3 separate regions of the Homo sapiens genome follow, and regions 1 and 2 are each linked to region 3. Evidence: promoter capture Hi-C in human tissues and cell types (Jung and others, 2019). All regions are on one chromosome and are shown on one strand. The core of a region is centred on a gene start or on the middle of the fragment in contact, and the rest is flanking DNA. Distances in the headings are between cores, read along the strand shown. Region 1 overlaps TAB1 (TGF-beta activated kinase 1 (MAP3K7) binding protein 1). Region 2 overlaps MIEF1 (mitochondrial elongation factor 1). Region 3 holds the start of GTPBP1 (GTP binding protein 1).

Region 1 (3,191 bases), core at 514-3,013, 700 kb after region 3:
TGTGCCTGTAGTACTTAGGAGACTTAATGGGGTGATTGCCTGAGCCCAGAAGTTTGAGGTTGTAGTGAGGCTATGATCCCCTCACTGCACTCCAGGCTGGGTGACACAGCAAGACCTGTTTAAAAAAAAAAAAAGAAAGTAAGCTTAAAATCAATTTTTTAAACTTCGACATGTCCTGAGCAATTATATCTGAGATCATAGGTGCTGCTATCTGTGTAATTTATCTAAAGGATGTTAAAATAAATACATAGCCACTAAAATAAAAAGGTCCATGGGGGTACCACCTATACCCATTGCATACACCCAGCTGCTGCCCTAGCACATTGGAAGTGCCAACAATGATTATTAGCCCCTTTAAGAATGAATGAGGAGCTCTTTAGGATGACGACATGGAGAACCTTCAATGAAAACTCCGGTGGGAGAAGTGGGGGCCAGGAGTGGAGCTGGTCTCAGAGAAGTGGGTCATCCGGAAGGTTGGAGGTGGTGGGGGCATTGGGGCCTTGGAAGCTTTTTGGAGAGAAAGGTCTGCTGCTCCCCTGCTCCGAGCCCTCTTCCTGGGGTTGTGAGTCTCCCTTTCTGAGCTTCCTTTTTGCTTCTAAGGAATGTGGGTGCTTTTACCACAAAAACACTTGGCCTTTTCATAGCATAATTTGGTATTCAAGCTGTGGCCTGAGCTTGGAACCATTCTTTGTCCATTTCTGCTGCCCAGGACTTTGAGATGAGTCTGTGTGGGTACTTTGTGAACTATTATGTGACATGGACACATATATACATGAGGAGTGAATGCTTACATCATGCACAGGGTGTTTGTAAAGGCCTTGTTGGGTTAAATACTGTTGGATCACTGTAGAAGCTTTTCATACCGAAACATTAATTTTGGAAACTCCTTCACAAAATCAAATCAAAATTAGGTCTTTTGAAACAGGCTTCTTAACGTATTCTTGTGAAATTTCTCATGAGCAGTTCATTTCTCAGACATGGAAGAGTTAAGTCCTGCGTTCGCTGTTGTGTGTGTTGCAGTGGCTCCGCGATGAGGCTGTGCTGAGTGAGAGACGCCCCCTTCTCAGCTTCTCGCAGACTCTTGCTCCCTGCGCTCCAGCGCCGCTCACGGCTGGTGCTGGCAGGCCTGGCATTTGGGGGCGTGGGAGAAAGTATGCATCAGTGTGTGCAGGGGTGGAGGGGTGGGTGGTTTGTGTGAATAGAAAGTACATGACCTTTCTGAAAATTGTTCAGAAATGTGGAGGAAGGAAGCGAGAGACTTGGCAGTCCTGTAGGCTTTAATGGAATCAGCAATGGACGCTCGGTATGGCTAATCCTCGATGGAGATGGAAAGGGACGGGAGAACACGATCCAAGCCTACTCAGCTGCAGCAGCGTGAGTCCGCTGGGGAACACGGAGAAGACCAGATACTCTCACTCCCACTTGGTAGAACCTCCTGAGGTTCTCCGGCCACTGTAGTGAACCAGTGTCTGGCGAGCGCCCGAATTACGTGAGAAACTGCCCATGTGTCATTGGATCTAAGACACCAATGTTTTAAGGACACGTCAGTGTTTTGTCTATTGCTCAGAAAGAGAACTCACAGCTAATTAACTTGTAACATACCAACTCCAGAGACGTTAACATGTGGAAAATGTAGGTCTTCAAATCAGTGAAATAAGGTAATCTAATTAACAATACCAGGCTATAGCACAATGGTTGCCACAGGGCCACTTTGGGAGGCCAAGGCGTGTGGATCACAAGGTCAGGAGTTCAAGACCAGCCTGGCCAAGATGGTGAAACCACGTCTCTACTAAAAATACAAAAAATTAGCCGGGCATGGTGGCACGCACCTGTAATCCCAGCTACTCCAGAGGCTGAGGCAGAGAATTGCTTAAACCTGGAGGGGCAGAGCTTGCAGTGAGCCAAGATCGCGCCACTGCACTCCAGCCTGGGCGACAGAGTGAGACTGTCACCAAAAAAAAAAAAAAAAAAAAAGGAATCATTTGAGTGAAAGATAGTTTCTTGAAGATGGTCAGTGGATGATTGAGGTTTGGGAATCATGGGCCTCTGGCCCTAGTTGGATTTGAGCAGTGCCTTTAGGGTAGATAGGACTTAAAAAGACAGAAAGGGACAGGCTTTGCCTTACCATGGGTACTTTTACATATGCTCTTTGGGTAATTTTTTTCTTACTCTTTCTTTATTTTTTTTTAATTTATTTTTTATTTTTGAGACGGAGTCTTGCTGTGTCGCCCAGGCTGGAGTGCAGTGGCGCCATCTCGGCTCACTGCAAGCTCTGCCTCCCGGGTTCACACCATTCTCCTGCCTCCGCCTCTGGAGTAGCTGGGACTACAGGCACCCACCACCACGCCCACCTAATTTTTTTGTATTTTTAGTAGAGACGGGGTTTCACCGTGTTAGCCAGGATGGTCTCAATCTCTTGACCTCATGATCTGCCCGCCTTGGCCTCCCAAAGTGCTGGGATTACAGGCGTGAGCCACTGCGCCCGGCCTCTGGTCACAGTTTTTTAGAGATTGTTTGGAACAGTGAGTAGAAGGCCTTGTCTGTACAAGATACACAGCTGAGTGAGATTGTTAATCTGTCAAAGGGCAAAATTCAAAACTTTCGACAGTCTGGAAGGCTGGGATGAATGCATTAAGATGTAATTCGACTGATATAAATTTAGATTTAAAACAACCTTCTATAGTAGTTTGGCTGGGGGAGACAGACATGGTAGAAACTCACAGGAAAAGGACTTTGTTATTTTACATTACATAGAGGCTAGATGCTCATCTTCTCTTGGGTATATGAAAGCTGTTGATTTGCATACTTTGATTTTCTATCCTGCCGCCTAACTGATTTCTTTTTCTGTTTGCATTAGTTTTTCATTGATTCTTTAGGGTTGCCAGGCGTACTGTCCTATCAACTGCAAATAGAAATGACTTCTTTCCCGGTTTTTATGCTCTCATTCTTTACTCTGTCTAACTGCCTGGGCTAACACCTCCAGTTCTGTGTGAAGTAATAGAGTGGGCAGCCTTGCTATGGCCCTGATCATTTGTTGTTGTTTTGTTTTTTTTTTTTGAGAGGGAGCCTCACTCTGTCTCCCAGGCTGGAGTGCAGTGGCGTGATCTCGGCTCACTGCACGCTCTGCCTCCCGGGTTCCAGCGATTCTCCTTCCTCAGCTTCCCGATAGTAGATGGGACTACAGGCGTCTG
Region 2 (3,208 bases), core at 93-2,592, 800 kb after region 3:
CTGTAGCACCACCTTGCTCTCACCAGTCATCAGAAGGGCACCAAGGACTAAAATGGTCCAGGGAGGCTGCTTCTGCCCTGAGTGAGGAGGTGCCCTTCTGGCCCTGCTGCATCACACTCAAGGATCATTTAGAGGGCACATGTGTCCAGTGGCTCTCCCTATTGTAAATATTTCAGTAAAGAGTTAAAACAAGAGACATTGTTATGTGTGGGGAAATGTATAGTGTTCTGCTTTTCTCCTGATTGGGTTATCTTGCCTCTGCTAAGTTTGGTTTGTCCCGTCTCTATCTCAGTGGCCACTGGAGAGAGGGTGTCTGCTGTTCTTCCCTGATTCCACCTGTAAATACAAACGTTATCTCTTCTCCCTGGCTTTGCTCTGTGCATTTGAGGTGGGAATGTACTCGGTTTGGCGAAATAGTCTTTCATGTCCCTAAACCTGAAGCCTCTATTGACTGTAAATGGTAGAGAAAAGGAAAGTACCCCCAAGGTGTGAACTCTAGTTAGGGAAAAAAATATTTTTGGGCTTGACAGTGACTCTTAGTTAACTCAATTACTGGAATAATAGAGTCAGAAATATTTCTTTGTTTTTCAGGGAGGTAGAGGCAGGAGCGTAAGATGTGGAAGCTAGAAATATCCACTTGTAACACGGTATTAGAAGGAATGTTATTTTACATGGAAGATAATCCTCAGTGATCCTTTTTTTTTTTTCTTCAAGACGGAGTCTTGCTCTGTCACCCAGGCTGGAGTGCAATGGTGATTCTCCTGCCTTGGCCTCCCGAGTAGCTGGGATTACAGGCATGCACCATCATGCCTGGCTAATTTTTTGTATTTTTAGTAGAGATGGGGTTTCACTATGTTGGCCAGGCTGGTCTTGAACTTCCGACCTCGTGATCCACCCACCTTGGCCTCCCAAAGTGCTGGGATTACAGGTGTGAGCCACCGCGCCCGGCTGATCCTGTCTCTTGATGTCCTCCCATTCTGGGACGCTAAATGGTATCCGACTTTGTTTTCCCTTATGTCATTCCTGGTGTGAAGGACACGGGATATTATAGAGGAGAGTGGCAGCATGCTGAGTGGTATTCCGATCTGAATCACACTGTCATCCTTTATCCGGCTCAGGCCCAGGGTTCTAACTCCACAGGAATGGGCTTATCTGGGGACTGCTGCTGCTGCAGTCAGGAAGACTCCACTGTAGTCGGGAGCAGCACTGGCCTGAGCACTGCACTGGAGGCCAGCCTCTTCGCTGTGGTGCCCAAGTACTTCTTTCAGGTGAACACATTTTTAGTTCCTCTTCCAGGTGTAATCGAGCAGATGGGTGTTTTGTTTTCCAGTTAGCAGTCGAGTCTGCAGTGTCCTTTGTGTTTTTTATCTCCCGGTATACCAGTCTCACCTAAGCTTTTATAGTCCCCGCTGCGCACTTCTCTCAAGAAACAAAGCATTTGTCAAGTAGGAGGGTCCATGGAGGGACCTTTCTCACATATGGACGTGTAGTTTCAGTTCCGTGTGCAGGATGTTTGGTACATGTTGTTTTGTGTTTTGTTTGCAGAAAGTAGATAGAATAAGGGCCGATTTGATTTGGGTAAGGGTGAGCATGGTACAGTAGAAAAAGCGTCATACAAGGAGTGGGGAGTCCTGAGTTCTGGAGATGACTGTGTCGTTTTGTTTTCGTTTTTGAGACGGAGTTTAGCTCTTGTTACCCAGGCTAGAGTGCAATCGTGTGATCTCGGCTCACTGCAACCTCCGCCTTCCGGGTTCAAGGGATTCTCCTGTCTCAGCCTCCTGAGAAGCTGGGATTACAGGCATGCGCTGTCACATCTGGCTAATTTTATATTTTTAGTAGTGACGGGGTTTCTCCATGTTGGCCAGGCTTGTCTTGAACTCCTGATCTCAGGTGATCCGCCTGCCTCGGCCTCCCAAAGTGCTGGGATTACAGGCGTGAGTCACCGTGCCCGGCCCATTTTGTTTTTTTATTTTTATTTTTAAGAGATGGGGTCTCACTCTGTCACTGAGGCTAGAGTGCAGTGGCGTGATCATAGCTCACTGTAGCCTCAAACTCCTGGGCTCAAGCATTCCTCCTGCCTCAGCCTCCTAAGTAGATAGGACTACAGGCATGTGCCACCATGCTCAATTTATTTTTATCTTTTACTTTTGGAGATGGGGGTCTTGCCATGTTGCTCAGGTTGGTCTTGAACTTCTGGCCACAAGCGATCTTCCCACCTCAGCCTCCCGGGTAGCTAGGATTATAGGCATGAGCCACTGCGCCTGTACCATTTCTTTTCTCTGAGACCTGACACATCACCTCCCTATGTTGAGAACCTCTGTGTGAGGTGATGTGATGGCATTAGATGAGCTCCAAGGTCCCGCTCAGATCTAACCTTCCACAAAGTAGTGGCCAAAGGACGAAGAAATGACCTGCATTATAACCCCTGTGATGGGGTAGAGAGACCTGCTTTATAACCTCTGTGAAGGGGTAGAGAGACCTGCATTATAACCCCTGTGAAGGGGTAGAGACCTGCATTATAACCCCTGTGAAGGGGTAGAGACCTGCTTTATAACCCCTGTGAAGGGGTAGAGACCTGCATTATAACCCCTGTGAAGGGGTAGAGACCTGCATTATAACATTGTGAAGGGGTAGAGACCTGCATTTTAACATTGTAAAGGGGCAGAGAGAGGGCTGTTTTGCATGGTGGGGTACTTCATTGTAATACAAAAAAGGACTGACACTGAGCTTAATGCTTTCTTAATCTCACTAGCTTGGGGAAAGTTTTCCTACAATACCCAAGATCAGCCCCTCCTCCTTGCATCCTGATCTATCATGGGACATTGTAGCTCCCTCCAGACCCTAAAGCATGCAGTGCTGGAGGCAAGAAGATTTGGGTTGCTGGAACTCACAGAGTACCCTGTACTTGTTGGGGTTTGGCTTGTTAGGGGAGGGAGGTTCTTGGGGTCCCAGTACTTATGGCCGTGTTCTGTCTTCATTCTCAGATGAGCAATGGCAGGCGCTGGTGAGCGCAAAGGCAAGAAGGATGACAATGGCATTGGCACGGCCATTGACTTTGTGCTCTCCAATGCCCGGCTGGTGCTGGGGGTGGGTGGAGCGGCCATGCTGGGCATCGCCACGCTGGCAGTTAAGCGGGTAAGTGCATGCAGCCAGGGCTGGGGGTGGAATGTAGTGGTATGGTCATAAGATGTAATGTTTTATAGAAAGA
Region 3 (3,181 bases), core at 1-2,500:
GATTCCCAGCTGTGTTTGTGCAAATAAGACTTGATAGTAGTGGAAAACAGGGACAAGAAGAGACTGTCTCTTTCTTCTCAGGTAGATCCCCAAAACTGAAAGCCATTTTCAATCCTGCCACTTGCTCACTAAAGATTTAGGGTTTAGGTCCAAACCCTAAGTCTTGGATTCCTTATCTTCTCAAACATGCTCTTGTTTGCTTGATGCCTGGTTCGAGTGGCCAAGGCCGACATTCATAGACGTTGGTTAATCCCTAATTTCGCCAAACAATGACGGCCTAGGCTTTTCCGGCTTTTGAAACAGGAATTCAAGACACTAAAACGTGTGTTGATGGCATTTTGGGTTGGGGCTTTTCACAACTGATGACACTGGAAAAATAATCCATAGGAAACTACCTTATGAGACCCTAGATTTCGGTTTAGCAGTTCACCACAAAAGTGGTGAGGTGTTTTTTGGCTTTTAATTTTAGCTGCTTGCCTCTGTTTTTAGTTCGTGTGATTGCCTCCGCAAAGGCAGTGAATGGAGAATTCTCCCTAAGGTCAGCATTTAATTATTGCCTCACTCTGGCTGCTATAGTATTACAACTCTTGGAACTTACAGCATCGATCCTACTATTAAAGTTGCCTGGAGCATGCCAGCACGTTGGACATCGGCGTTCCAGCAACTGCCTCAGTCACTGAATCGAGTGGGAGGCTCATTTTGCAGTTTACTATCTCCATGAGCAGGTCCAGGCGCGGGACCTGTTCTATGACTCGATTGGGTCCTGCCCTTGTCCGTCATCGGAAGGCTTACAGCGCCTACTGTTTTGCAGTAAGATTTGCAGGCTTAGTACCGCCTCTGGAAACAAGGAGAGTGAAGGGGCGTTGACGAGTAACGTTGTTTGTATTTCTCTCCTCATTGGATGGCTGCTGTGTCAGTCAGACACTTCTCTGCTTCCGTTGGCGGGAAGGCTTCAGGCGGGTAGCGGGGACTCGGTACTGCCCCCTCCCAAGCTGGGAGCAGGGCGCGTGACGTCTCAGACATTTGTTGTTGGGATTTGGGCCTCATTAATTATTCATTAGGTACTTGAAAGCTCTGCAGGGATTGGTGGCTGAGAGGCCTAGTCGACTGTTTCTTAGCTAGAGGTACGTGTCACCCAGTACGCGGCTGGAGTTTTGCATAAATTATTCCGATAAGGAGCGGGGCGGGGCTCTGTGCATAGATTAGTCAAATGAGCCTGGGAGGGAGGGAAGCCGGCTACGAATTAGCCTAAGTTATTAAAGATGGCGACGGAGCGCAGTCGCTCCGCGATGGACTCGCCGGTCCCGGCCTCTATGTTCGCCCCCGAGCCCAGCTCCCCGGGGGCGGCCAGGGCCGCGGCGGCCGCCGCCCGACTCCACGGCGGCTTTGACTCGGACTGCAGCGAGGACGGCGAGGCGCTCAACGGCGAGCCAGAGCTGGACCTCACCAGCAAGGTAGGCCCGGGCGGCGGCGGCGGGCGCTGAGGGGAGCGGGCGGCTGGCCGAGCAGTCTCCCGGGCGACGGCGGGGCCAGCGGCCGCCCTGTCCGCGGGGAGCGCGGAACGGGAAGAAGGGGCCGAGCCCGCCCACCTGCTAGTCTCCGGGACGTGCGGGGGTTCGCGGCGCGAGGGGCCGTCCCCATGGTCCCCGCACCCACCTTGGCTCCCCCGCGTCGCCAACCCAGCCTCCCGCCCTCCCGTCTCCCGCCGAGATCGTAACCCCTCGGCTCTGCCACGTGGAACGGGGGCGCCCGATGCCAGCTGCGCTCCGCGCGTTCCCTGTCCCCGCTCAGTGCCCCTCCCCGTTCTTCGGGTCCCCACTTGAGGGGATTCGGAGACCGAGAGTCTCCTCTCCCTGGACCGCGCGGGACAGCAGAGGGGCGAGGGGGCCCGGGCAGGGGGCCGAGACGCTCATGAAGACAGGTAGTCGGAGGCCAGGGCAGGGTGGCCGCCGCGTCTCTTCCCAGACTCGGGAAAGGAAACAGAAAGTAGTCGCTCAGCTGGGGAGGAGCATGTCCGAGAATGTCTACTTTTCGAGGCCACCCGAAACAAAATGGAAAGATGGTCAGGCTCCTTAGTCTCGCTATCCTGTGAGTGGAAGCTCATCTTGTATGAGTGGAGCAGTGAAGGACGTTTAAAACCGTGTTTTTTGAGCTGTCGAGAAGGTAGGCAGGAATTAAGGCCTCGCCAACGGCTTGACATTGTGAAGAATAGAAAAGTAAATACAAGATGTGACTGGTGTTTTGAAGGTGCTTAACGTTCCTTAGGGAAAGAATGCCAACTTGGGAGTCAGACAGGGCTGGGTTCCCTTTCCTGCCCTACCATCGAAAGGCTCTGTGACGTTGGGAAAGTTTCTTAACCTTTCAGTTCTCCAACCACCTCATCTTAAGAAAGTACAGATGGGTTGTAAAAATTAGAAATATTTAAGAAGACACCTAATAGTGCCTGATGCATACTAGAGACTCAGTAAATGTTTGAAGTGAACGAGATAGTTCCTAATTTCCTGTGCAGATTAAATAGCAGTGGGTGAAAGATAGAACACCAATACCACCACTTACATTTGTAGGATAGTTACGATAGACATTTTATCCAGCTTTGAAAATGTTTGTGACTTTTTATAGTTTATGGCGGCAAATTTGCATGAAACTTGGTCCTAAACTGGGGAGGAACTTTCCCTGCAACCTAAGCAAGTTATTTTCAACTGCTCTTTGCCATTGTAGTCTCAGGTGAGCACTTGGAAGCCAGCTAGCCTGTCAAAGTTGGTCCTGTCTTGTGCCTGTAAGGCCATAATGAGGATGGCCAAACTTAGAGAGAGGGATGGCCAGGACGATGTAAAAGACCCAGGAAACATCCAGGTTACAATTACAAGCTCTGATGAGTCAACTCAGGAAGTTACAAGATTATGGACCTGACTCAAGAGCAAACAAACTGGATGTCAACACATGGTCAAGGTGCTGAAGAAACATGATAGGAAATTGCAGGGCAGAGTTGCAAAGACGGTAGTACCTTCATTTCTTGACCAGCTCATTTAATATTCCTAGAAGTGTTATTTCATCACATAGCTGGGGAAGTCCTCCTTACAATTAAAAAAAATCATATGTATATTAATATCGATGATATCAAAAAGAAAAAGTGATGGTGTGGAGGGAGAGAAGGGTTGGGTTGAATAGATTGATTCCGGAG

Evidence for each region. Contacts are between HindIII fragments. The study calls those that stand out against the background at their distance.
Region 1: a fragment that was not itself captured here is called in contact with the fragment with the promoter of GTPBP1 in region 3 in 1 of the 25 tissues and cell types used here (dorsolateral prefrontal cortex).
Region 2: a fragment that was not itself captured here is called in contact with the fragment with the promoter of GTPBP1 in region 3 in 1 of the 25 tissues and cell types used here (dorsolateral prefrontal cortex).

What each region holds. Positions count from the first base shown.
Region 1 is chr22:39,404,445-39,407,635 of GRCh38, forward strand. The region is part of intron 1 of TAB1 (TGF-beta activated kinase 1 (MAP3K7) binding protein 1); the gene reads left to right. Among named protein-coding and RNA genes, the nearest start is that of TAB1, 6.3 kb to the left of the region's middle. The HindIII fragment of the contact is 6,290 bases long and covers 1-3,191 here.
Region 2 is chr22:39,508,304-39,511,511 of GRCh38, forward strand. MIEF1 (mitochondrial elongation factor 1) reads left to right here. Exons shown (of 6, transcript NM_019008.6): 3 at 2,985-3,135. The coding sequence starts at 2,992. Among named protein-coding and RNA genes, the nearest start is that of MIURF, 5.7 kb to the left of the region's middle. RefSeq lists an enhancer at 2,273-2,798. The HindIII fragment of the contact is 6,788 bases long and covers 1-3,208 here.
Region 3 is chr22:38,704,694-38,707,874 of GRCh38, forward strand. It overlaps GTPBP1 (GTP binding protein 1), which reads left to right and starts at 1,251. Exons shown (of 12, transcript NM_004286.5): 1 at 1,251-1,454. The coding sequence starts at 1,263. RefSeq lists enhancers at 9-694, 695-1,380, 930-1,079, 1,381-2,066 and silencers at 700-849, 1,170-1,579, 1,760-1,899. The HindIII fragment of the contact is 4,768 bases long and covers 1-2,272 here.